3 separate regions of the Homo sapiens genome follow, and regions 1 and 3 are each linked to region 2. The links are contacts of gene promoters, found by promoter capture Hi-C in blood cells and fetal thymus (Javierre and others, 2016). All regions are on one chromosome and are shown on one strand. The core of a region is centred on a gene start or on the middle of the fragment in contact, and the rest is flanking DNA. Distances in the headings are between cores, read along the strand shown.

What was found. Contacts are between HindIII fragments. The CHiCAGO score rates a contact against its expected background, and 5 or more counts as called.
Region 1: a contact is called between a fragment that was not itself captured here and the fragment with the promoter of GRM5-AS1 in region 2, in 1 of 17 cell types (neutrophils). The highest score is 6.0, in neutrophils.
Region 3: a fragment that was not itself captured here is called in contact with the fragment with the promoter of GRM5-AS1 in region 2 in 3 of 17 cell types (neutrophils, activated CD4 T cells and M2 macrophages); the score reaches 7.0 in neutrophils.

The regions. Positions count from the first base shown.
Region 1 is chr11:88,276,599-88,281,344 of GRCh38, forward strand. No RefSeq gene overlaps it. Among named protein-coding and RNA genes, the nearest start is that of CTSC, 59 kb to the right of the region's middle. The HindIII fragment of the contact is 10,000 bases long and covers 1-4,746 here.
Region 2 is chr11:88,501,378-88,506,059 of GRCh38, forward strand. It overlaps GRM5-AS1 (GRM5 antisense RNA 1), which reads left to right and starts at 3,199. Exons shown (of 6, transcript NR_049724.1): 1 at 3,199-4,682. GRM5 (glutamate metabotropic receptor 5) reads right to left here. Exons shown (of 10, transcript NM_001143831.3): 10 at 3,265-4,682. The HindIII fragment of the contact is 8,959 bases long and covers 2,046-4,682 here.
Region 3 is chr11:88,245,647-88,249,997 of GRCh38, forward strand. No RefSeq gene overlaps it. Among named protein-coding and RNA genes, the nearest start is that of MIR3166, 71 kb to the left of the region's middle. RefSeq lists an enhancer at 642-1,841. The HindIII fragment of the contact is 2,522 bases long and covers 1,768-4,289 here.

The sequences.
Region 1 (4,746 bases), core at 1,620-4,119, 230 kb before region 2:
ATCCTATATTTAAATTACTCAGGCTCATATGAAGGGACTACTCTCTCTATTGAATTGAACTGATAACACCTATTGAATAAGAATATGATTACGATGGTGGTGGGAACATTAAGTACCTACTTTGGATGCCTGAAAACAGGGATAATAATACCTATCCAATAGGATTGTTGTATAAATTGGACAAAATCATATATGGAGAAATCCAACAGAGTTATTGACACATAGGAAATTACAAATCAATTAAAGACCCAACTATAAAGGGCTTGCCTCCTGTGTCAATGATGATATGATTTAGCATTCATTAAACACTTACTGTGTGCCAGGCACTTTTTGAATGGCCTTAGGTAAATTATCTCATTTGATACTCTTAACAACTGTATGTGGTATGTGCTATCATTTTCCTCAGTTTTCAGAACCCAGAACCTGAAATACAGATGGGTTAGTATAAAGTAGAACCTTGAAGCGAGCCAGTCTGACTCAAGGGCTAGTGCTCTTAACTTCTATGTTACACCAACTTCTCAGGTTGAATTTTAACTTAAACACAATAGTAATCTCTTAAAGGTTTAAACTAATGCAGTTTTAGAAATAATTTTAGACAGACTTGGTTTTCATAAAGATCACTCAGATGATAAAATAGGGAATACTTTGTGGTATGAAGATTACCATCTCTCAGTATTGCTAGTGAAATTAGGAGCAAAAACAATCATGTGCCAAGCAATTAGAGATATATGTGGTTCAAAATAACTCAGATAAATATATAACAACCCTGAAACCATTTGATGATTTTAAAGGGTTCAGACCAAAGTTAACCTACATGCTATTTTTTTTCAGAAAGCATAATTCTCCCTCTTTTCTTTTATGAAACAAAATCTAGCTTAATGGCAGGACTAAGGACTTTTCAGTTACTGACAGCATGCCAAGCCTTGGGATAAAACAGCCTTGGGCTCATAAAGAGATCAGTCAGGTATTCAGTATTTGCACGATCAGATTGCAAGTGATACATGAGGTCTGAGTTTAAATATCTCCAAAGCACGGGCATTCAAAAAAAGTAACCATGTGCTGCAAATTCTACATTCTAACAATTGCAACTGGAAGAAAGCCTAATCAAAAACAAAGAAAAAAAAAGTCTCATCTTTATTCCAGCACAGTGCCAGTTTCCATTTGCAAGTTGATGACAAAAACTTAAATTTTTTTGTGGCGATTGGCCTTCACTTCTCAATTTCTCTTCTCTCTCTCTCTCACTCTTCTAAACACACACACATATATACATACACATGTACATATACACATAAATATGTAGACACAAATATATATATATACACATACATATTCATGCATTCTTTAGTGACCAAAAAATTTTATTCTGATATATTGTGTTTAAATAAATTCAGCTCCTGACAACATGGATATTCTTTTGAACACTTTTAAATAACTCATGTTCTCTTTGATTCCTTGTATTATTTAGTAATTTAATTTTATGTTCTGGATTTCTTCAAAGCCTCAGAGCCTGCATCTATAAGTAATACATTCGAAACAATAAGAGCGAGCCTGTTATTTTCTAATAGAAGTATCATTTAATCCAGCAATTCCACTACTAGCTATCTACCCAAAGGAAAACAAATCCAGGCTGGGTACGGCAGCCCACCCCTGTAGTCCCAGCACTTTGGGAGGCCAAGGTGGAGGATTGCTTAAGGCCAGGAGTTCAAAACCAGCCTGGGCAACATAGTGAGACATTGCCTCAACAAAAAATACAAAAATTAGCCAGGTGTGATAGCATGGGCCTGTAGTCCCATCTACTCAGGAGGCTGAGATGGGAGGATCATTTGAGCCCAGGAGCTCGAGGCTGCAGAGATGTTCATGCCATTGCATTCTAGCCTGTGTGACACTGAGACCCTGGCTCAGAGAAAGACAGAGAGAAAGAGAGAGAGAGAGAGAAAGAGAGAGAATTTACTTAATGGGTAATGGGTACAATGTACATAATTTGGGTCACGGATACAGTAAAATCCCAGACTTCACCACTGTGCAATATATCCATGTAACGAAATTGCAGTTGTACCCTTTAAATTTATATAAATAATCTCATTAATGGGTATATACCCAAAGGAATACAAATTGTTCTATTATAAAGACACATGCATACATATGTTCACTGCAGCACTATTCACAACATCAAAGACATGGAATCAACCTCAATTCCCATCAGTGATAAAATAGATAAAGTAAATGTGGTCCATATGCACCATGGAATACTATGCAGCTATAAAAAAGAATGAGATCATGTCCTTTGAGGGGGATGGATGAAGCTGGAGGCCATTATCCTTAGCAAACCAATGCAGGAACAGAAAACCAAATATTGCATGGTCTTGCTTATAAGTGGAAGATAAATGATGAGAACACATGGACACATAGAGGGGAACAACACTTTCTGGGGTCTAATGGAAGGCGGAGGGAAGAGGATCGGGAAAAAATAACTAATAGGTACTAGGCTTAATACCTGGGTGATGAAATAATCTGTACAACAAACCCCATGATACAAGTTTACCCACGTAACAAACCTGCACATGTACCCCTGCACTTAAAAGTTAGAAAAAAAATAGTAAAAAAAAAAATATATATACACATTAAAAAAAAAAGTCACCCATCTAATACTTTGCTGTAGGAATCAGTTAGCTTTCCCCTTTTTGACATATCTATATCCCTGTACATAATATGTTATGCCTTCCTTTCTCTACTTATGCGATGCTTTATTTGCTCCTACTTTCTACTTTTCATTGAAAAGCACTCATGTATTTTTCTGTGTGTTTATTATGAACCTAATGCAATGAAACAACTAAAATAAAATTAAATTCATCATAGTTTATAATGTCATTAGAAAGGTATGATACAGAAACAGAAAATAAATGTTAAATGATTTGGCAAGGGTAGTTTATCCTACAGAAATTTGGGTGAGAAAGTCTGACGAGGATGAAGGTGAGACTTGGACAGTGCTTTGAAGATACCAATAGCTTCCTAACTGATCTCACTGTTGCCAATCTTGCTCTTCCTCTTATGATTTCCTTACCAACAGATAACAACATTACAAAAGCAAAGATCTGATCATAATATTTCTCTGTACAAATTCCTTCTCCCCACTGATTACATCCTCACCAGCATTTATTATTAAAATTCATTGTATATGGAAATAAACCCAGATGCAAAGTTGCAGACTTTCTTCCTTCCCAGAACCTTGAATATCCTCCTAGTTTGTATTCTAGTTCCCCCATCGACCCCTGCCTCATTTTCCTGGGTCTAGATACCATGCTCAGCTATTACTTTGCTGGATCATGATACACTATGCCCACCTACCTCACCCAGGCACTAACTCACTGGGAATCTTTAGCCAAAATTTAGAATCATGTTACTGTCCCTATTTGTGCCCCAGAAACTTCAGCAGCTATGTTCCATCAACTTAGAAGATGCCTCCTTTAAATATCTATACTTCCTGGATCATACTACTGTATTTCCCTGGAATCCATAAATTGAACTGTGACTTCCTTTTATTCTATACCAACTTACATCTGAAGTGGTAGATTACTTCATATGGGTAGATTTAGAACACTGTGTTTCATTTGGCTCTTCCATTTTACTTTCTCCAAGAAAAAGAATGGAAGATAATAGGAAGCAATATGTATAAGACTGAATTAAGACAGAATTATTATCAAATTGAAAGACAGTGAGTTATGTTATTGGCTTTCAACATATATCAGACAGACCATGCCTCCTTGTCTAATAATAAAGACTTCATTTGGAGGTCCCAGAACACTAAATGATATGAAGCTATGGGTTAGGGGATGGTCAATTTACAGAGGCATGGGATCCTGGTTAACAAAAATTTTCTAGAAAGAAAAGAACATGAGTAAAGCTAATTTAGGGCACCATGATACATCTACTTATGGACATATTTGTAAACTACCAAGACCACCCTGTTTCATAATAGCCCAGTCATAGGTAGAATAATTACCTTTAAGAAGAATATAAAAGTACTAATGCTAAAGAAAGCAGAAATAATTCTCTAAGTCATTATTGGCTAAGAGTGTTGTATAATTTGCAGGTACATTTAAAGGAAGAATTACTAACTCAAGGCCTACTGCATTGCATTTCAGAAAATATACATTGAAAATAACGTGACATAATAGAGAATAGGTAAATGTCTGTAGCCATGGGCTCGAATACTGATTCTTCCAAATACCCTGAGCAAGGATCTTGGTCTACTGAACCTCAGTTTTCCTATCTGTAAAATGGGCTTTTAAAACCTGTTCTATTGACAGATTGTTTTGAAGAATAATACAAGTAATGCACTGCCATTCAAAAGGTAGTTATTTTATCTATTGTCATCGCTATTTAGACAGGCACAGTGTCTCAATATCAGGTTAATATAATGTCTTATTTTTGACATGTAAATGGCCATTAAGTGTTTTAAATCCTTCTTTAACTAAACAGGAGATTTGAAGATCAGCTTTTGAGTCCAGAGATTTGGGCAGAGGCCAAAATAATTCAGCTGCCAGCTACAAAGTACCACAGCAAGTGCCAAAAACGCTACTCATTTTTGAATGAGAAAAATATCTCTGCCAAACCAAATCTTAAGCGTTTTTATAGTTCTTTCCCGTATGTTCCTATAAAAAGGTCATTTTTTACATCTCATTTTTGAATGGAGCTGTCAGAATAACAACTTTCAACTGTCTCCCAAGCCTCAAAAATTGATCCAGT
Region 2 (4,682 bases), core at 1,949-4,448:
TTATTAGAGTGGGTACTTGTCTTCCCAAAACAAGATCTTTTTTTCTCTGTATACATTTAGATTGTTTCATTCCTCTTTGAAGAGTAAGATGAATTATTAGGGCTAATGATGGGATTTAAGCTCTTCAGAAAATATGATAGAGAGTACCACACATATAGGGAAGTAAAGGGCTAAAGTCATTATCTTAAATATGCAAGAGTAGAAATGCATTTATGTGGTATGTGTTATAGATGTGTTCATGTAGTTTTGCTCTTATGTTTTTAAGTTAGAAAGAGTTTCTAAAAATAGCTTCTGGATAATAAGCTGATAGACTTCTACTGCTTTTGAAATACATTTCACTGGTTAGGCAACATCTATTAATGCTGTATCTCACATATTGCTTCATCTGAGGCTGTTGAAGTTAAGGAAACTTAATTTCATTTGGTTCAAAACGTTTTGAACAAAAATGAAAGAACATAAATTGTAAAAGAAATCCCTCAGCTTGACCCGTGAAAGTAAAGTAAATGTGCTGACAGAGGTCTAAGAAATCAAAAAATGGGAAGAGAACAAATAATAAAATTGAGCAAGACTTCCAATGGTTCAGTAAAATGGCTCCTGAAGACAATGTTATAACTCTATCAATCTGTGTTTACTTCTCTAAAGGCCTAAGGAGATCATCATGGAAATGGCAATGAATTTTGAAAACTAAAAGAAAAAGTGTGTATAAATTATAACTTTTATATCATAGCATTTCCAAAATTCTTTTCATGAAACTCTACTCTGAGGAGACAGCTTCATTAGCAAAGTTAATGGATATTAGAATACTATAAATTGGGCCGGGCACGGTGGCTCACGCCTGTAATCCCAGCACTTTGGGAGGCCGAGGCGGGCGGATCACAAGGTCAGTAGATCGAGACCATCCTGCGAATGGTGAAACCCCGTCTCTACTAAAAATACAAAAAATTAGCCGGCGATGTGGTGGGCGCCTATAGTCCCAGCTTCTTGGGAGGCTGAGGAGGGAGAATGGTGTGAACCCGGGAGGCGGAGCTTGCAGTGAGCCGAGATCGCGCCACTGCACGCCACTGCACTCCAGCCTGGGCTACAAAGCGAGACTCCGTCTCAAAAAAAAAAAAAAAGAATACTATAAATTGGTAACTTCCGAAGTGAAGATAGCCATTTAATTTGGAATTACTACATTTTTCAAACTTTTAAGACTCTAAGAACTTTTATGAATCACCTATTACTATTCAGCAGTTCAGAAAAGCCACAATTTATTATGTGGTTTTCACGGACATAGAATTTGTATAATTTAAAATATAACATCTATCTCATCATAGAAATCTGATAGTATGAAAATTTTTATTTTTAATGTCAATGAATAAAAATACAAGCTATACATAAATAAGCCAAAGTGTCTGATATGTATATCACATAGGTATCCTGTATATAGATCATACCTCAAAGAGACTTATGTCCTGGCAAAAATAAATGTCTTTGTCCTGGTGTAACAGTAATTTAAAACATTTATTCTAGTGGAGGTTAAGTGTTCCTGGAAACTTTTGGTTCAGGATTCTAAGAGTGGCTGGAGAAGATGAGTTTAAACATTCTCTTCATAGAACTTATTTACTAACATAATAACCTAAAAGTAATAAACAGAGTGAGATGTAATAACTGATTCTGAGTTTTAAAATACTGTGAGAGAAAATGTAAATACCAAGCTTTTGCTTAAGGAGATAACTTCATTAATATAATTCTGCCTATCTATGTGCTTACCTACCTTTCTGCCTAGCTATCATACAAAGTAAATATTTGCAAATTGTTTATGTTCTAAAACTGATCATTCATGTACAGCATAACCAAAAACTTGGCCAGCATTCAGCAGCAATTATAACAGAGGAAAAGCATTCTCTCTGTGGTGTTCAATATCAATTTACTAAGTTGTCCTTGATAGACAGTTCCAAGGTTGCATATGAGTTCAAACCTCAATAGGTTTCCTCCAGGATATATGCTTTAAGTTGGACAGGAACTTGTTAAGCTCCACAAATAACATTGATATAACAAATTTAAGCTTCCTGCTGAATATTAACTGTATACTAAATACTACATTGACACTAATAATAGCTACTATTGAGCATTTATCAGGAATGTTGAAATGATAGAAACTTCACAGATTATTGTAACTCACTTCTGCATTTAAAGCAAGAGGAACAAGTTGTAGAGAAATCAGAGTGATTTATCCAAAGTCAGTTGGTGACAGGTAAGAGATCCTGGCTTTTAATTCAATGCTATTTCTATTGCATCCGCTGGTTTTAAATGGCCTTCCATAATTTGATGGAGTCTGATAAGGCTCTTTGGATTTTTAGAAGGTAATTTCCTGTACCTGGTTTGTATATGTCACTTCATCCTCAATTTTATGTGAACATATTACCATTCATATCACGTTAGAATAAAAGATACTGAAGGGAAGAGTCTGACAAAACAGATAAAATGGCTTTCTTTGTTAAGATCAAACACATTCTGTATAATATATGTATCTACATATGTATATATATCATTATGCATTTAATACAATGTCAGAAGCATAAATCAAATATATTTTTAAATATACCTTGTTTTTCTCTTCCATACATCAAGCATCTACCTTATATTCTGCTGTTAGTTTTTCACTAATTTGTGTCCAGGGAATGTATATTTGCTCAAGAATCAGTCAAAGTAAAACTTTTTTTTTTTCTGGAAAAATTATGTAATATGCACATACATCTACACACAAACACACATATACACAGAGACACATGCAGATGGACTCAAAAGTCAAATGTCTATATAAATATGTATGTTTGTAAACACACATCTATACACACACAAATAATCTATTTTATCTGTGTGATGTTACCTCTATCAACACATATAATTATGAAACTATTTCTATAATTTGTATGTCTAGATGCATAAACAATGCATATTTCCTATATATTTTTTTAAGTACTTCTTTATGTAACAGTTGTTTGTAGATGTGTTTGGGGACAACATCTCTGGTTGGTTTGTGGTTGGTTTATATTTTCATTTAAATCTATACAGTCCACTGCTTACTTTGTAAACCCCATAATTCAAATGTATAGATCATCCAGTATTCAAGATTAATTAGTATCATGGCTCTTTTCATCTCAGAAAACACTATTAAGACAACATTCTAAACATTTGAGGGGAATAATCTTAAAATCATATTATAGGTTTTTTAATTTTTTTGAAAAGTAACTGGCTTCACAAACACCAAGTACAACATGATTTAGACAACTGAGAAACAGGCAAGTATATTTTGAAGTGCTAAAATAAAACATATTTATACAAGTACAAAGCAAAACAATGCTGATAAAAATGTTAAACTTTATGAAAAAAAATCATTTGCAGTTCACATCAAAATAATTTAACATTCTCTATTATTTTAATAGTACAAGCTGCCACAACAGAGAAAGAACAGATACACGCACACAATTTTAAAACCAAATCAGTTATAAGTGCAGAAAAAAGTAAGTACAAGCACTTTTAGCCCACACAAATCTTTTAGGATTGGCACCATCTTTCTAAAACATCTATAATCTATATAGATTTCTAATTACAACACCATCAGCAGCTGCCATTGATTTCTAGAAATACACACAATATACATAGTATATTTGTTCACATTGGGAAGATCAGTGAAATTCAACCAACTATTTTATACATGCCTCATTCTTCAATAGACAGTAGAGACTCTCCCAGGCCTCAGACCCTCTTCAAAGTGAATTCTGACTTGTCTTTATGCTTTCACTGATCTGTATTTTTTCACAGTATAAAATTGTAAATGGTAACTATAGAGATTCTGACAGCTTGAGGGTTATTAATAAGCTGTTGCTAAATGTGAACTCACATAATACCTTTGAAGTCTCCAAAACATGTACATTTTACTGGGAGACTAGCATAGGAAATGCTTTTGTTTTTTGTTATTCTTAAAAAGAGCATTTAATTCCTGGCTTGGAAGTCACAGAACTGCAGCAGAGCTATTATACAATTCATTTACAGTCAGAAATAGCTCCTAGTCTTCCTGATCACTTGCTGGTAACAGCAGTAGTTTGGGAAAGATAGTTACTTTCAAGGATTAGCACGTTTGGGGATTTGCTTTTTTTCCTTGCTTCAGTCAAATCTCTTATAATTTTTCTTTCCATACTCCCTTTCTGTTCCCCATCCCTAGCCCAGAAAGACGGTTCTTCCCAATCCAGATATGTTCTTCTTAGGCTGCCCCCACTCCTTTCCCAAAATGGAAGGATGAGTGGACTGCTTAGATTAGTCAGTATAACTTGGTTAAACCACGTCTTCTTCTTTCCATCCTGGGACATATCTCTCATTTAGGGTCACTTTGCTGAGCCTTAGCATATCCCCTTCCTTTTAGTCATGCTGGTCCCGACTGAATTATCACTGGGCACCAGGAACAGATTGTTTTGAAGGAAATTCAATGAGAATGTACCCAAATGAATTGTGAAGTTCATATCCTATAGCCCTAGAATGAATATTCAGTTCTCTTTGTACTGTAGAGTTATTACTTGGAACCTGGTATTAGAATTGGCAAAGAGACAGAGTTAGCATCATTCCAAAATAAAAGATCTCAAGAATGCATTACTAATAATCTTATGTCCAACATACAATGTATTCAATGGAGTGGCAAAAGT
Region 3 (4,351 bases), core at 1,779-4,278, 260 kb before region 2:
AAAAGAAACTACCATCAGAGTGAACAGGCAACCTACAGAATGGGAGAAAATTTTTGCAATCTACTCATCTGACAAAGGGCTAATATCCAGAATCTACGATGAACTCAAACAAACTTACAAGAAAAAAACAGACAACCCCATCATCAAGTTGGCAAAGGATATGAACAGACACTTCTCAAAAGAAGACATTTATGCAGCCAAAAGACACATGAAAAATGCTCATCATCACTGGCCATCAGAGAAATGCAAATCAAAACCACAATGAGATACCATCTCACACCAGTTAGAATGGTCATCATTAAAAAGTCAGGAAACAACGTGCTGGAGAGGATGTGGAGAAATAGGAACACTTACACTGTTGGTGGGATTGTAAACTAGTTCAACCATTGTGGAAGACTGTGTGGCGTTTCCTCAGGGATCTAGAACTAGAAATACCATTTGACCCAGCCATCCCATTACTGGGTGTATACCCAAAGGATTATAAATCATGCTGCTATAAAGACACATGCACACATATGTTTATTGCGGCACTATTCACAATAGCAAAGACTTGGAACCAACCCAAATGTCCAACAATGATAGACTGGATTAAGAAAATGTGGCACATATTCACCATGGAATACTATGCAGCCATAAAAAATGATGAGTTCATATCCTTTGTAGGGACATGGATGAAGCTGGAAACCATCATTCTCAGCAAACTATTGCAAGGACAAAAAACCAAACAATGCATGTTCTCACTCATAGGTGGGAATTGAACAATGAGAACACTTGGACACAGGAAGGGGAACATCACACACCGTGGCCTTTTGTGGGATGGGGGAGGGGGGAAGGATAGCATTAGGAGATATACCTAATGTAAATGACAAGTTAATGGGTGCAGCACACCAACATGGCACATGTATACCTATGTAACAAACCCGCACGTTGTGCACATGTACCCTAGAACTTAAACTATAATAATAATAATAAAAAGAAAAAAGAAAAGTGACCTAGAGAGAAGGGGGTTTGGATAATAATATTCAGTTCCAAAGTCACTCACTGCTACCAAAAACTCTAGCAGGAATCAAAACCACCTCTTTTCCTAAAACAATGGAACTAAAATTTCTGGGCTAGAATTCCACCAGAAAATTTCCAGAATTTCCGGAGTTATAATTGCTCACTTGCATGAGTCGCTGATCAAAGTGTCCTTGGCTGATTTTCACTGGCAGTCATCCTCATTTCATAGGCATCTGATTCACTTCAGCCAGCCTTCAAGTCCCACACCCTCCTTCGTCATCAGCTAAGATTACCCTCATCAGACTGTGTTTCTCATGATACTTAGAGACAAAGAATTCACCAAGTTTTTTTTTTTTTTTAAGATGCTATCCCTTTGAAGTATGCCTTGTAGTCCCCCAAATCCTCTGCTGAGTTTACTTTGATGCATCTATAGTGCACTGGGTGATACTTTCCTATTTAGTTCTAAGATCATTTCAAGAACTTTGTGGAAGGCTTTTTGGCAGTCGAAACCATTTATATATGTGTATATAGAAGTATTTAACATTTGTTTAGTGCAATAATTTTTCTATCTCAGTGAAGAATTACCGAAGGAGTTTGTTCAAAATGTAGTTCATACCTGGAGATTCTAATTCAATAGGTCTGGAATGGGCCTTGGGAATCTATATTTTTAACAATAACTTTCAGATGCAAAGGTGAGAAGACTGCATTCTATAAAACACTTATTTGTTACTATTAATAGATATTAATAGTGTCAGGCAATTTGCTAAAAGCTTTACAGACTTTATTTTATGAAACTATCACATCAATGCTATAATGAAAATATTATTAGCCTCATTTTATAGATGACTAAAGAGGGCTGAGAAAGGGAAATGAAAACCCAAGGTCATTAATCAATTATGTTAGATCAGAAATTCAAATTAAATTAAGTCTATGTAGTTGCAAAATCCAAACTCTTTCAATTACATTACATTATAAAACAAATTCTGATGTTAAGGACATTACAATTCTAGCAAAAAAAAAAATGGCAATTCTCCATGAGTACATCTTGGGTTAAAAAATTAATCTGTTCTTTAGTTGAAATTTATGTATCCATCAATTTATGCTATATTGTGATAACAAACAATTCATGGGCAGTAGTCACTTAACACAACTAAGATTATTTTTCCCTGATGCTCCGTGACTACCTTGAGTTGTGCTGGGAATCCTGTACCATGCTGTCTCCATTCAGGGACACAAAGTTTTGAGCCACTATCATTTAGAACATCACCACTCCCTGTGGCAGGGGAGGGAAATAAAGCAAAAAGGCACCAGCTTTTTTGTTCACATTTCATTAACCAAAGCAAGCTGTATGGCCATATTTAACATTACAACGGTAGTGAAGTACAATTCTACCATGTGCTCAGAAGGCAGAGAGTTGAAAATACTGTAAACTGCACAATGGTTCACAGATAGATTAGAAACTGCTAGACTTGGAGAAGGAGGACGTGGGTTCAAATTCTAATTTCACAATGTACTAACCCTATGACTTTAAGCAAGTAAATAAATCTCAGTTTATTTCCTAAACAAGTATACTAATACTTATGCCATATGTTTGTTGTGAAAATCAGCAAGACCGAGTAAATTCAGTTTAGTGCCTGAAGCATAAGTGCTCTCACTAAAACTAGTGGAATTGGAAATAATCACTTTGCTGACTATCCTTACCTATCACATGCCAATGATGTTTCAGATTCACATAGTTTCTATTTTATTCTCACATTTCAATTTAAAGATGGTGTCTAAAGAAACCACTGGGTAGGGAGAATTAAAGGCAGCTAGCTTGCTAGTATGGGAAGCTCTCGTAAACTAGCTTTCTCAGTAAATAGACTCTAGGGTAGATATTTGTTTGCAGGAACAGTACCTGAAAAGGGATGAAGGAAGTAGGACTGAATAAAAGGAAAAACTGACTTGTAACACAGTAACAACAGAACCAATCTGCTTGGGAGCTCTGGAACTGGGGTGGCACTTCGGGGATGGTCTGGATTGTGGCATAAGATCCTGGGCTAACCTTGGACCAGGTGGTGCCCTTAGAAGGAAATGCCTGGAGAGGGATTCAGCTGACAGCCATAACCAATTCCTGGAGAGGGATTCAGCTGTGAGGCAGTCAACATTTGCTACAGCTGGGGAAACTAGGGGACTGAGGGTCTCAGGCCTGAATGGAGGGGTCTGAGAAATGGACCATGACACCTGCTTTGAAAGTAAACCTAGAGATAAAATCAGCTATAAAACTGAAAGACTATGGACTATGACGTCTTATTATTTTTCATTAAATCTTGCTTCCATTTGAACAATAAGTTAACTGAGGTACTTAAGGTTTAATATTCTAGTATATAAATAGTGACCCCAAACTGTTTCCTCTTGCCTGTCATTCTCATCCAGGAATAATTGACCTCCAAGGATTACTATCAGAATGTTAGATCTAGTGCCAAAAAGCAACTATTTTCATGACAATCGCCTCAGAAATAATTACTAGAGGCAAAAATCATTTTTGGCTTATTTTTAGCTTGGATGAAATACTTTCTAAACAGATACATCTTACACTAGAATATTGTACCTCTCTAGGACTTCTTAGGGATGTTCCAGTGAGGCACCAGGAGCCACAGGATAAAGACGGCACATTTTTGGAACATGGCATGATTGGATGACATGAAAGATTGTGAAGGGGGTCAACACATGATTTAGTGATTTTAAATCTAAAAAGCATATATACTGCAGAGTACAGAACTGCACTATTTTTTTTTTTGAGCCGGAGTCTTCCTCGGTCTCACAGGCTGGAGTACAATAGTGTGATCTCAGCTCATTGCAACCTCTGCCTCCTGGGTTCAAGCGATTCTCCTGCCTCAGCCTCCCGAGTAACTGGGATTACCATGCCCGGCTAATTTTTGTATTTTTAGTAGAGACAGGGTTTCACCATGTTGGCCAGGCTGGTCTCGAACTCCTGACCTCAGGTGATCTGCCTGCCTCAGCCTCCCAAGGTGCTGGGATTATAGGCATGAGCCACTGCGCCCGACCGATAAATTATATCTTTCAATAAATGTCATGGTAGATGTAGGGCATTCAAACCACATGGAGACACAAATTCATTTTGCTGTGCCTTTAAGGACACTTTCTAGAAACTTTTGGGAAGCATACTCTAAACTATTGCAGCTTTCTTACTTCTGGCTTATCATGATCTCTTTGAAATTTCACAATTTTCATACTGCAGAAACATATCTCCAGCAGTTGTTTCCTTGGGAATTAGAATAAATAAAGGAAGCTTATATTTCTGTAGAGCACAAAGATCAATTACATCATGTCTTATCCTTCAGTGAGGCTT